2 separate regions of the Homo sapiens genome follow, and region 2 is linked to region 1. The links are contacts of gene promoters, found by promoter capture Hi-C in blood cells and fetal thymus (Javierre and others, 2016). All regions are on one chromosome and are shown on one strand. Each heading gives the region's core, a stretch centred on a gene start or on the middle of the fragment in contact. The rest is flanking DNA. Distances are from core to core; before and after follow the strand shown. Region 1 holds the start of FLACC1 (flagellum associated containing coiled-coil domains 1). Region 2 holds the start of CASP10 (caspase 10).

Region 1 (5,990 bases), core at 3,187-5,686:
AGCCAAGGAATCGGGGCAGCATCTAGAAGCTGGAAAAGGCAAGGAAACGAATTCCCCCTGGAGCCTCCGGAAGGAATGCAGCTCTGCCGACCTCTTGATTTTAGCTCAGTGAGGCTCATTTTGGACTTTGACTTTCAGAATTGTAAGATTGTTGCTTGAGCCACTACATTTGTGGTAACTTTGTTACAGAGCAACCAGAACCAGAGCATTTGGGAGTGTGGGTGAGAGATTGGCAATAGAAACATAGAAACCTAAGAAAATAAAATGTGCAATTACTCCAGGTTAAAAAATATTGAATGAGAAAGTAAACATAATCATAGTATGGCACACACTCATATGTATCAAATGTAAATACTTAATAGTGACTTAGCCAAAAAGTGAACTGTGACTACATGGGAAGAATGAGTGGAATGGGGATGTATAAGAGCCAAATCCTCATCTGCTGTACCAGAAAGAAAAATTAACATACGGAGCACAGACAAATTACTTGGAAGTATGAGGTAAATAAAATTCCAAAGAAATAGATAGCAGAGTTGAAAATAATTGCCTCTAGGAGCACATTGAGAAGTAGAACTGACAGGTCAGGGGATGGGGCAGAAATTGAGACTTTTCCTTAATGAATTTTTAACATTAGTTGATTTTTAAATGATGTCAGTGGATATTTCTTTTCTCTTTTCTTCTTTTCTTTTCTTTTTTCTTTTCAGAGTCTCACTCTGTCACCCAGGCTGGAGTGCAGTGGCACAATCTTGGCTCACTACAACGTCTGCTTCCTGGGTTCAAGCGATTCTCCCGCCTCAGCCTCCTGTAGGTGTAGGCCTCCAGCCTCCTACAAGTGCCCACCACTATGCCTGGCTAAGTTTTGTATTTTTAGTAGAGACTGGGTTTCGCCATGTTGATCAGGCTGATCTTGCACTCCTGGTCTCAAGGGATTCTCCTGCCTCGGCCTCCCAAAGTGCTGGGATTACAGGCATGAGCCACTGTGCCCAGCCATGTCAGTGGATATTTCATTAGTAATAAAAACAAATGCCAAAAATGTTATAAGAATCAATGGCCTAACAGAAGCATTAAAGTGATAGCAGATTTAACTCAAATGTCTAAGTCTATGATTAGTTTTCAATATTACACTGGAATACATTTGCTTAAGAACCTGCTGAAAAAATGAAATCAACCTTTGTCTCCAACACGACTGATGCTTGAGAAACCCACTGATGGTGTCTAATGACCTTAAGAGCTACAGAGGACCTTAAGGTTGAATCTGTTTTACATATGAGGATACTAAAACTCACTCACTTGTAACTGCTGCTTTAACAGTACAAATCTTTAGAGGCTCGTGCTGTGAGTCCTGTGCTAGATGCTGGTTGGACCTTGCCCTCAGGGAGCTTGCAGTCAGCAGAGGAGTCGGCAGAAAGAGAGCTAAGTGAGCAGTGGAGCAAAGGCAAGAGACCTGGCCTTGGAAGAAAGGCAGCGTGTGCAGGGGTTGGCTGGGCCAGAGGCCTGGGACTAGGGAGTCTTCTGCAATAGAGGTCAGGGCTAGAAAGGAGTCCAGGGCTAGAAAGGAGTCCAGGAGACTGGCTAAACAGCAAAGGCCTGAAGAGCAGGTGACAGGGCCGCCATTTATAACTGTCCATACTCCACTGGGTTTGGGGGCCTGTTAGGGCCAAGTCAAGGAGATGAGGTCAGAGAAGCAGATGGGATCGAGTGCCCAGGTGGGAAGATGATGCTACAAGGGGCTGGAATTCAGGTGAGAGTCTGAAAGAAGGCTACAACAGTAGCAAAAAAGAAACTGCTTCTGCTTAGAACCTTGTATCTGCTTCCTGTACGAAAGGAGCCAACCCTGAACTTGGGAGATTTAGCAGGAGTCCATGGGGCAAGAAGTGAGAGGCTAAGGCAGGCCCACTTCTAGCAACTGCCTTCTCTCTTCTTGAAGGCCAGGACTCCACTATGGAGTGCTCTCTGTGCCTCAACACCTCCACTAAGCCTTGCAAAGTGGCTTGTCCACAACGGGCATTTGATGAATATTTCTTACCTGACTAGTAAACTTAGTGGTTGTAATCAGCTCATCATGGTGGTTGGGGCTAGCTCAACAAAGAGAAAAAGATGGTATGGTGGCTGATGCCTGTAATTCCAGCACTTTGGGAGGCCAAGGCGAGAGGATCACTTGACGCCAGGAGTTCGAGACCAGCCTAGCCAACAGGGCGAAACCCCGTCTCTACTAAAAACACAAAAATTAGCCAGGCATGGTGGCACATGCCTGTAATCCCAGCTACTCGGGAGGCTAAGGCAGGAGAATCACTTGAACCTGGGAGGTGGAGGTTGCAGTGAGCCGAGATCTCACCACTGCACTCCAGCCTGGATGACAGAACAAGACTCTGTCTCAATAAATAAATGAATAAAACAAAAAACAAAAACAAAGAGAAAAGAGATTCACAGATGAAACTGCCAAAATGTTGTAATCGTCATTACCATATTATAAATAACATTAAACATTTGCATTCAAAAGCCAGAAAGCAGAGGTAAATTGTATGGGTGATACAATCACTCAGTGGAGTTTTACATAGATTTTCAATGATCTTTGATGAATGTGTAGTTGTTTCCTTTTCCTCTTTCCCATGATAAACAATGTCTTGGTATATATTCTTTTGCTCTTAAGAAAAAAAAAAAAGAAGGCCTCACAGGTGTGGTGGCACATGTCTGTAATCCCAACACTTTGAGAGACTGAGGTGGGAGAGTCGCTTGAGGCTAGGAGTTTGAGACCAGCCTGGGAAACATATCGAGACTCTGTATCTACAAAAAATTTTAAAAATAGCCTAGTATGGTGGAGTGTGCCTGTAGTCCCAGCCACTTGGCAGGTGGTGCGGGAGGATCACTTGAGGCCAGGAGTTTGAAGTTGCAGTGAGCTAGGACCACACCACTGCATTTCAGCCTGGGTGACAGCACAAGACCCTGTCTCTAAAAAATAAATAAATAAATAAAATAAAAATAAAGGCCTTTTTCTTTGAACACCCATGGGAGTGATACTCAAAATATTTAACAACCAGTAAGACAAGGCTATTGAATAATCAACCAGGGTTGGAACAGGGTCCTGGGAGATCTCACTCCCACCTCCATGCCAGGCATTAACCCCTTAGTTGCTGAATCATGAGGTGGTCTGGGGGTGCCAGGGGAGGAGTTGGGACAACCAAGGTGGCAAGGAGGACATGCAAGGGGCTTGGACAATGGTCATCTACCAATCAATATGACAGTATTTTATTTATTATTATTATTGTTTTGAGACGGAGTTTTGCTCTTGTTGCCTAGGCTGGAGTGCAATGGTGTGGTCTTGGCTCACTGCAACCTCTACCTCCGAGGTTCAAGCGATTCTCCTGCCTCAGCTTCCCCAGTAGCTGGAATTACAGGCACCCGCCACCATGCCTGGCTAATTTTTGTATTTTTATAACGATGGGGTTTCACCATATTGGCCAGGCTGGTCTCAAACTCCTGACTTCAGGTGATCCACCCATCTCAGCCTCCCAAAGTGCTGGGATTACAGGTGTGAGCTACCGTGCCCTGCCTATATGGCAGTATTTTAATATTTCAGTAGCTAAAATCAGCCCTTGACTTCTCATAGCTTCTTAAGTGGGAACTACTTCTAACAGATTTTTGGGGCATCCTTCCAGAAATGTTGTGAGTGCATATAACCTTAAATGTTTTGCATATAGAACTTAACCTGTAGAGAAGCATAATAGATTTTTTAAATTATTTGCATAAGTGAGAGCATACTTTGCACACAATGTTGCATCTTGTTCTTTTTGTGTAACAGGATATCTAGTTGATATTTCCATGTCATCACAGATAGATCTGCATTTACAGTGGCTTGACATCATATAGCTCTAATTATAGAGGGGTGTGTGAGTGTGTGTAAGGATTTTTTCTCCCCCTTTTTTCCCTTTCCTGCACTTCTACCTGATGATTTTACCTGAGGCTTGCCCTAACAATAGTCACCAGTGAGCCGGCAGAGGCTTCAGAGAAGTTACTGGTTAGTATTAATAATCAGTAGAAAAAATAATATAAAACATCTTTTCCAAAGAGCTTACCTTGGACTGCCCAAAGATCTGTTATTCTCATGTGGCCCAAGTCAAACATCTTAAAGAAACCACCATGTTAGAGAGAAATGGTTCCCCATCAACACAGAATCAGAGTTTACTTTAGATCAAAAGCCACTTTAGTGGCCATTCCAAGTGGTTGAAATGCCGAAGGAGAAAATTCACAGTATATGTACTGCGGGAAGACAGACTTCTAGTGAATCCAATCAAAGGCTTTTACAAAGGCTGGCCTGGCACAAACATGAATTTCCCTTCTAAAGACAAAACAGTTGAAGTTTCTCAGTATTGCAATGAAATTAAACTAGAGGAGAAGGTCACCCCACCATTCAGATTCCTGTGACTTGGGCCTGAGTTGTGAGGTTTGCCCTTGGGAGATGGCAGGCCAAAGTTTGTTTATTTTGTTGCTATGGACACAGAACAGTAGCTCCTCATTGGCTCAGGGCTCTTTTCTTCAAGAGAGAAGGTTGGGAGAAACAGCCAATTAAATTCTCCAAGACACAAATCAGTGACCACCCTCAACAGCAAAGAATTCATACTTTTAACACTGGATTTCCACTTTCGTCATCAGTCATGGGACAAAAAAGTTTAAGATATATCTTCAGAGGAAATAGAATTCAACAGCACTTTTAGGCTTCATTGGTCTATGGCAATAGTTACCAGGCAGGATCTGTGATGGATTTTTAATTCCTCTGTGATCTACTCACAGAAACCTAAAACTCTAGACACTTTTTTCCCTCGAGTTTAAGGCTTTGAAATCTGTGAAAGTAAAAATCCCCCAAGGCAGGAATCTTTTGCAGTCACAAGGTTTTCCGATTTTTTTTTTTAAATAAAGCTGCTTTTTCTTACTATAGAAAAAAGTACTTGCTTATTACAACCCAGTGGCTTTCATTTTAGTTTTACTGCCACTCATTATAAGAAATACATTTTACAAATTTTGTAATAAAAAAATTTCATGAAATAATACTCTTATTATTTGCTATTCTCTTCTATTTCTTTTTCTTCTTTAAATTAAAGCTGATTATAATCCACTAGATTGATTTCATGATCCTGGTGGGTCACAACCCCTAGCTTACAAAATATTGTTATAAATTCATCTATTCACTCAACTTCACATTTGTTGTCTACTGTGTGCCAGGCACTATTGCTAGGTGTGGGGATATACCTCAGTTCTTATACTCAATACAACTTAGAGACCAATGAGAAAACAGACAATAAAAAAGCTCAATAAAAGCATAATTAATTTTTTTTTCCTTTGAGACAGTAGCTCACTCTGTTACCCAGGCTGCGGTGCAGTGGCAGTGGCAGTGCAGGCTGCATGCATAGCTCACTGCAGCCTTGACCTCCTGGACTCAAGCGATCCTTCTGCCTCAGACTCCCAAGTAGATGGGACTACACAGGTGCACAGCACCATGCCCAGCTAATTTTTTTTTTTTTTTTTTTTTTTGAGACGGAGTCTCGCTCTGTCACCCAGGCTGGAGTGCAGTGGCGGGATCTCGGCTCACTGCAAGCTCCGCCTCCCGGGTTCACGCCATTCTCCTGCCTCAGCCTCCCAAGTAGCTGGGACTACAGGCGCCCGCCACTACGCCCGGCTAATTTTTTTGTATTTTTAGTAGAGACGGGGTTTCACCGTTTTAGCCGGGATGGTCTCGATCTCCTGACCTCGTGATCCGCCCGCCTCGGCCTCCCAAAGTGCTGGGATTACAGGCGTGAGCCACTGCGCCCGGCCGCCCAGCTAATTTTTTTGACTTTTAGTATACATGAGGCCTTGCTATGTTGTCCAGGCTGGTCTTGTACTCCTGAATTCAAGTGATCCTCCTGCTTCGGCCTCCCAAAGTGCTGGGATTACAGGTGTAAGTCACCATGCAGCCACAATGACTCATATTGAGACTTGCCAGAAGCAGTGGGAGT
Region 2 (5,724 bases), core at 1,857-4,356, 170 kb before region 1:
GAGTGCAATGGCACGATTTTGGCTCACTGCAACCTCTGCCTCCCGGGTTCAAGCGATTCTCCAGCCTCAGCCTCCTAGTAGCTGGGATTACAGGCATGTGCCACCAAGCCTGGCGAATTTTATGTTTTTAGTTGAGATGTGGTTTCACCATGATGGCCAGGCTGGTCTTGAACTCCTGACCTCAAGCAATCTGCCCACCTCAGCCTCCCAAAGTGCTGGGATTACAGGTGTGAGCCACTGTGCCTGGCCAGGACTTGTCTTTTTCTTTTCTTTTTTTTTTTGAGAAGGAGTCTTGCTCTGTAGCCCAGGCTGGAGTGTGATGGCGTGATATCCGCTCACCGCAACCTCCACCTCCTGCCTTCAAGCGATTATCCTGCCTCAACCTCCCGAGCAGCTAGGATTACAGGTGTGTGCCACCACGCCCAGCTAATTTTTTGTATTTGTAGTAGAGACAGCGTTTCACCATCTTGGCCAAGCTGGTCTCGTGATCCGCCTGCCTCAGCCTCCCAAAGTGCTGGGATTACAGGCGGGAGCCACTGCACCTGGCCCCAGGACTTGTCTTTCTTAAGCACAGAAGTTCTCTGAATGATGCCTAGGACATGGAAAGGACATTTTAATACATTTGCTAATCAAAGCATCATAAATCTTGCTTTTTTTCCCCATAGATAAAACATCTTTCTAAGACTCTGTACCTCTTTCCAGAGTGCTGCACATTTGAGTTAGCTTAATTATAGTGTAGTGACTTTGATCCAAACTTGCTGGTTTAAATCTTGGCTCTTCCAGCCGCTCACTGTGTGACCTTGGGCAAATTAATTAACCTTTCTGTGCCTTAGTTTTCACATGTTAAAGCAGCAGTCATAGTAATAGTATTTATCTTACAGTGTTGTTGGGATGGTGAAATGAGTAAATATTTGTAAATGCCCTGGCACATGGTAGTTGCAATATTAGTGTGCAGTATTGTTTTTATGATTAGAAATAATGTCTTCAAAGTCTCACTTTCCTGCTGGTTTGAATGTGCTGTGAGAACACATACTGTCAGTTTTGCCTACCACAAATTTGTTGAGTCTCTTGCAGGTACCTCCAAATGGGCTTGTAATTCACCATCCCCACTTTTCTTTTTTTTTTCCTTTCTTTTTCTTTTTATTTCTTAATTTCTCCCACAAAGACTGAAAGTGAATCCCCACTTTTCTTTTATCTTTTAAAAATTTTATTTGTGGGCCGGGCACGGTGGCTCCATGCCTGTAATCCCAGCACTTTGGGAGGCCAAGGAGGGTGGATCACAAGCTCAGGAGTTCGAGACCAGCCTGGCCAACATGGTGAAACCTCGTCTCTACTAAAAATACAAAAAATTAGCCGGGCGTGGTGGCGCATGCTTGTAATCCCAGCTACTCGGGAGGTTGAGGCAGGAGAATCACTTGAACACAGGAGGCAGAGGTTGCGGTAAGTGGAGATCGCTCCATTGTTTATTTGCATGTGGACATAAGAAAGGGTTAACATGGCCGACAACTATTTCATGAGCTTTTTGGCTTTATTTGAAAAGTGAAGTGTGTTTGGGGAAGGAGTTGGTTAGGAAAACAGATGCTTCCCTTTTTGACTTACCAAGGAAATGGAGATCCAAAGGAAAGCCTGAAGCACTTTGTGGCTTCCACGGGTTCGTTTCTAGGAAGCTTTTGCTTTACCTGGGGAAACCCCAAGCTCTACAGTGAGAAAGTTGTAAATTAGCCTTTAGGAGACGCTGTTTGTCAAAGTTATCTTAACCCTGGAAAAGGGGAGGGAAAAAGGCAGATAAGCAGTGATGACATCAGCAGGAAACTAGTATCAGGCTACCCAGTCCTGAAGATTCAGTTTTCACTTAAACAACCAGCAAGTCTTGAAGTCTCTTCCCAAGCAAATGGGAGCTTCTTTGGACCTTGGAGCACACAGAGGATTCTACTTTCTTTAAAACTTTGTTTTCAGGCAATTTCCCTGAGAACCGTTTACTTCCAGAAGATTGGTGGAGCTTGATCTGAAGGTATGTAATTAACAACCCTTCTTACTCCAGAGTCTCATGCTTGAATCTTTTCCTTTGCTTCATGGCTTCGTGTTGTAGAAACTTGCAAAAACTTGTCAGCAATGGCACTATTTTTTCTTAGATTTCTTTGTCATGCCTGGGAAAACAAAAGTTAAAAAATCCGGAAGCCTCCAACATAGCCTTTTACCGGGGCAGAAATATGTTAGCTCACAGAGACAAAGTTTGGTAGACTCACTAAAACTAGAGATCAGAATTGTCAAGAAACCACAAGGCAAATGCTAGATGCGGTAGAATAGAAAGGTGTCTCCAATAAACCACTCATTTGACCTCAGGGCTAGTAGCAGGGAAGATCCCCTGGATTATCACATTAAAAATGACATTTTTTTGTTTCTTTTAACACCAAAAGTAATGTGTATGCTCACATATGCATAAAATTTGAGAAATTCAATTGGAAGCCCAGAAGGAAATTTGTATTATCTATAGTTATGTCACCTCGATATAACCACTGTTTGTTATGGAGGTTTTGATTTTTGCTGTGTCTTCCTTCCTTTATTTATTTATTTATTTATTTATTTATTTATCTATTTATTTATTTGAGACGGAGTCTCCCTCTTTCACCCTCCAGCACTCAAGCTGGAGTGCAGTGGCACAATCTTGGCTTACTGCAACTTCCGCCTCCCAGGTTCAAGCAATCCTCCCATCTCAGCTTCCTATGAAGCTGGGACCACAGGCATACACCACCAAGCCCAGCTAATTTTTGTATTTTTTGTAGAGACGGGGTTTCACCGTGTTGCCCAGGCTTGTCCCGAATTCCTGGCCTCACAGTGATCCACCTGCCTCAGTCTCCTGAAGTGCTTCTCTGATTATAATGAAATTTAGTATGTAGAATACCATAGTTTATAGACTAGTCAGATGGAAACATTGACTCATGTAATTTTTATCTTCCTTCGCTGATTTGAGCAACTCTTGTCTAAAATCACCCTTTCCTTCTGAGGTCTAGGAGGTTTTTTTGTTGTTGTTTTGTTTTGTTTTTGAGGCAGGGTCTTGCTCTGTCACCCAGGGTGGAGTGCAGTGGCACAATCATGGCTCACTGGAACCTCCATCCCCGGGGCTCAAATGATCCTTCTGCTTCAGCCCTCTGAGTAGTTGGGACCACAGGCGTGCACCACCATGCCTGGCTAATTTTTGTATTTTTTGTAGAGATGGGGTTTTACCACGTTGCCCAGTCTGGTCTTGAACTCCTGGCCTCAAGTGATCCACCCGCCTTGGCCTCCCAAAGTGCTGGGATTATAGGCGTAAGCCATGACACCCCACCTGTTCCTTCCTTTATAAAGTATTTTCTTGTTTCTAAAAATAGCCAAGTTCTGCATATTGACTACATACCTCAAGTGCTTATAGAATAAATAGTATTACAATGAAAATTTTATCACTGCATTGCTCCTCTGATTATGATGAAATTTAGTATAGAGAATAGCATAGTTTATAAACTGATCAGATGGAAACATTGACTCATGTAATTTGTTTTTTTTTAGTGAAAACAAGTTTATTAGAGAAGTAAAGAAACAAAAGAATGGCTACTCCATAGACAGAGCAGCCGACTCATGTAATTTTTAACTTCCTACACTGATTTGAGCAACTCTTGTCTAAAACCACCCTTTCCTCCTGAGGTCTAGGATATTTTATTTATTTATTTTTCTTTTTGAAACAGGGTCTCACTCTGTCACCCAGGGTGAAGTGCAGTGGCATGATCATGGCTCACTGCAACCTGTGCTCCCCAGGCTCAAATGATCCTTCCATCCTCGGCCTCCTGAGTAGTTGGGACCACAGGCATGTGCCACCATGCCCTGATAATTTTTTGTATTTTTAGTAGAGACCAGGTCTCGCCATGTTGCTCAGGCTTGAGGTCTAGGATTATGCCTTCCCTTTCTGTAAGATAAAGGCCTGCCCTCTTACAGGTAGCAGTCTGAAGTTAAGATGTAACACACATACCTCACGGTACCTTGCTGTCTTTGGGTTGATAGATCATAAGGATAACCCTGCCTCCCCCAGATTGCTTTGTGTCTAAAACTTAAAGCATAGAGCCAAGTGCTATTTCTGCCACGTGCTGGAAATGAATGTAAGGGCTCCAATCAGGCTACCAGGCTTGAGAAAAATTGTGCTGTGTCCCTCCATCTTAACTTTCTCTCTCTGGGAACATTTTGATTTGGGAGAAATCAAGGTGAATTGAATTCCAATATAAGCACCCTCCAAGTTTCCTAAAAAGTAACTTGCAAGTGTTGGGGAAAAGTTTTCTGGGCTGTTGCTTTTTGAAGTAGCCTCGCCGTAATTTTTATTTTTCAGCACTTCTAGGAAAGTCTAATGCCCAGAACGGAGAAGGTTGTGGTGAGGGGAGGGCCTGGGAAGTCAGGGGGCCATATGTCCTCACTCTCTAACTCCCTGCCCCACCTCTCTGTCCCTTTCAGGCTGGCCATGAAATCTCAAGGTCAACATTGGTATTCCAGTTCAGATAAAAACTGTAAAGTGAGCTTTCGTGAGAAGCTTCTGATTATTGATTCAAACCTGGGGGTCCAAGATGTGGAGAACCTCAAGTTTCTCTGCATAGGATTGGTCCCCAACAAGAAGCTGGAGAAGTCCAGCTCAGCCTCAGATGTTTTTGAACATCTCTTGGCAGAGGATCTGCTGAGTGAGGAAGACCCTTTCTTCCTGGCAGAACTCCTCTATATCATACGGCAGAAGAAGCTGCTGCAGCACCTCAACTGTACCAAAGAGGAAGTGGAGCGACTGCTGCCCACCCGACAAAGGGTTTCTCTGTTTAGGTGAGGACGGGTCTGTGGTGGAGATGGGAGGATCTCCCATCTAGTGTTCATTCTGGCCATTGGGCTTTGAAAGGAAGCTGCAGTTAAGATCTTTTGGTTATCTACCTCCTTGGATGATAAACCAGGAGATTCTAAACCTCCTTCTCAGCCTCTGATGCTAATGAGATAAGAGTTGGGAGGTCAGCAAAGCTTCAAGACCAAGCCCTGGGCCCAGAGGTGGCTTCCCTTTGTTTTGCTTCTCACTAGCAGTGAAGCCCACCTCAGTGTGGCAGAGCCCGTGTTTTCCCTGCTTACCAGCGGCTACACGTGCAGATCTTCTCCCTCCTGGGATCCACTAGTCTGTCTACCTGTTTCCCGGGGTCTTGAGAAGAGAGTAATGCATACTTGGAGTGAAATAAGCAAGATGAAAAAAGAGATGTGTTTCTGGGGTAGGGAGGGATGTCATTTATGCCATGTCTAGTTATAGAAATTTCTATATTTTTGGGTGGGAATCCAGAAAGGTAAAAACAGGCATTTTGCCCAAAGAGGTAAAATTTAGGCATTGGTCTTATCATGGATGACAGCGTTTTATTTTTATTTTGAGACAGAGTCTCGCTCTGTCACTCAGGCTGGAGTGAAGTGGCACCATCTCAGCTCACTGCAACCTCCGCTTCCTGGGTTCGAGCGATTCTCCTGCCTCAGCCTCCTGAGTAGCTGGGACTACAGGCACCCACCACCACACCTGGCTAATTTTTGTATTTTTAGTAGAGACAGGGTTTCCAACATGTTGGCCAGGCTGGTCTGGAACTCCTAGCCTCAAGTGATCCACGCACCTCGGCCTCCCAAAGTGCTGGGATTATAGGTGTGAGCCACTGTGCCAGGCTGATGACAGTGTTTAAAATTGTTCACTGACATAGT

The links. The method cuts DNA at HindIII sites, captures the fragments that hold promoters and counts their contacts. A CHiCAGO score of 5 or more calls a contact.
Region 2: a fragment that was not itself captured here is called in contact with the fragment with the promoter of FLACC1 in region 1 in 2 of 17 cell types (endothelial precursors and M2 macrophages); the score reaches 6.9 in endothelial precursors.

What each region holds. Positions count from the first base shown.
Region 1 is chr2:201,352,909-201,358,898 of GRCh38, forward strand. FLACC1 (flagellum associated containing coiled-coil domains 1) reads right to left here and starts at 4,437. Exons shown (of 15, transcript NM_001127391.3): 1 at 4,074-4,437. The HindIII fragment of the contact is 10,294 bases long and covers 1-5,990 here.
Region 2 is chr2:201,181,298-201,187,021 of GRCh38, forward strand. CASP10 (caspase 10) reads left to right here and starts at 1,844. Exons shown (of 10, transcript NM_032977.4): 1 at 1,844-2,011; 2 at 4,474-4,827. The coding sequence starts at 4,481. The HindIII fragment of the contact is 2,882 bases long and covers 1,666-4,547 here.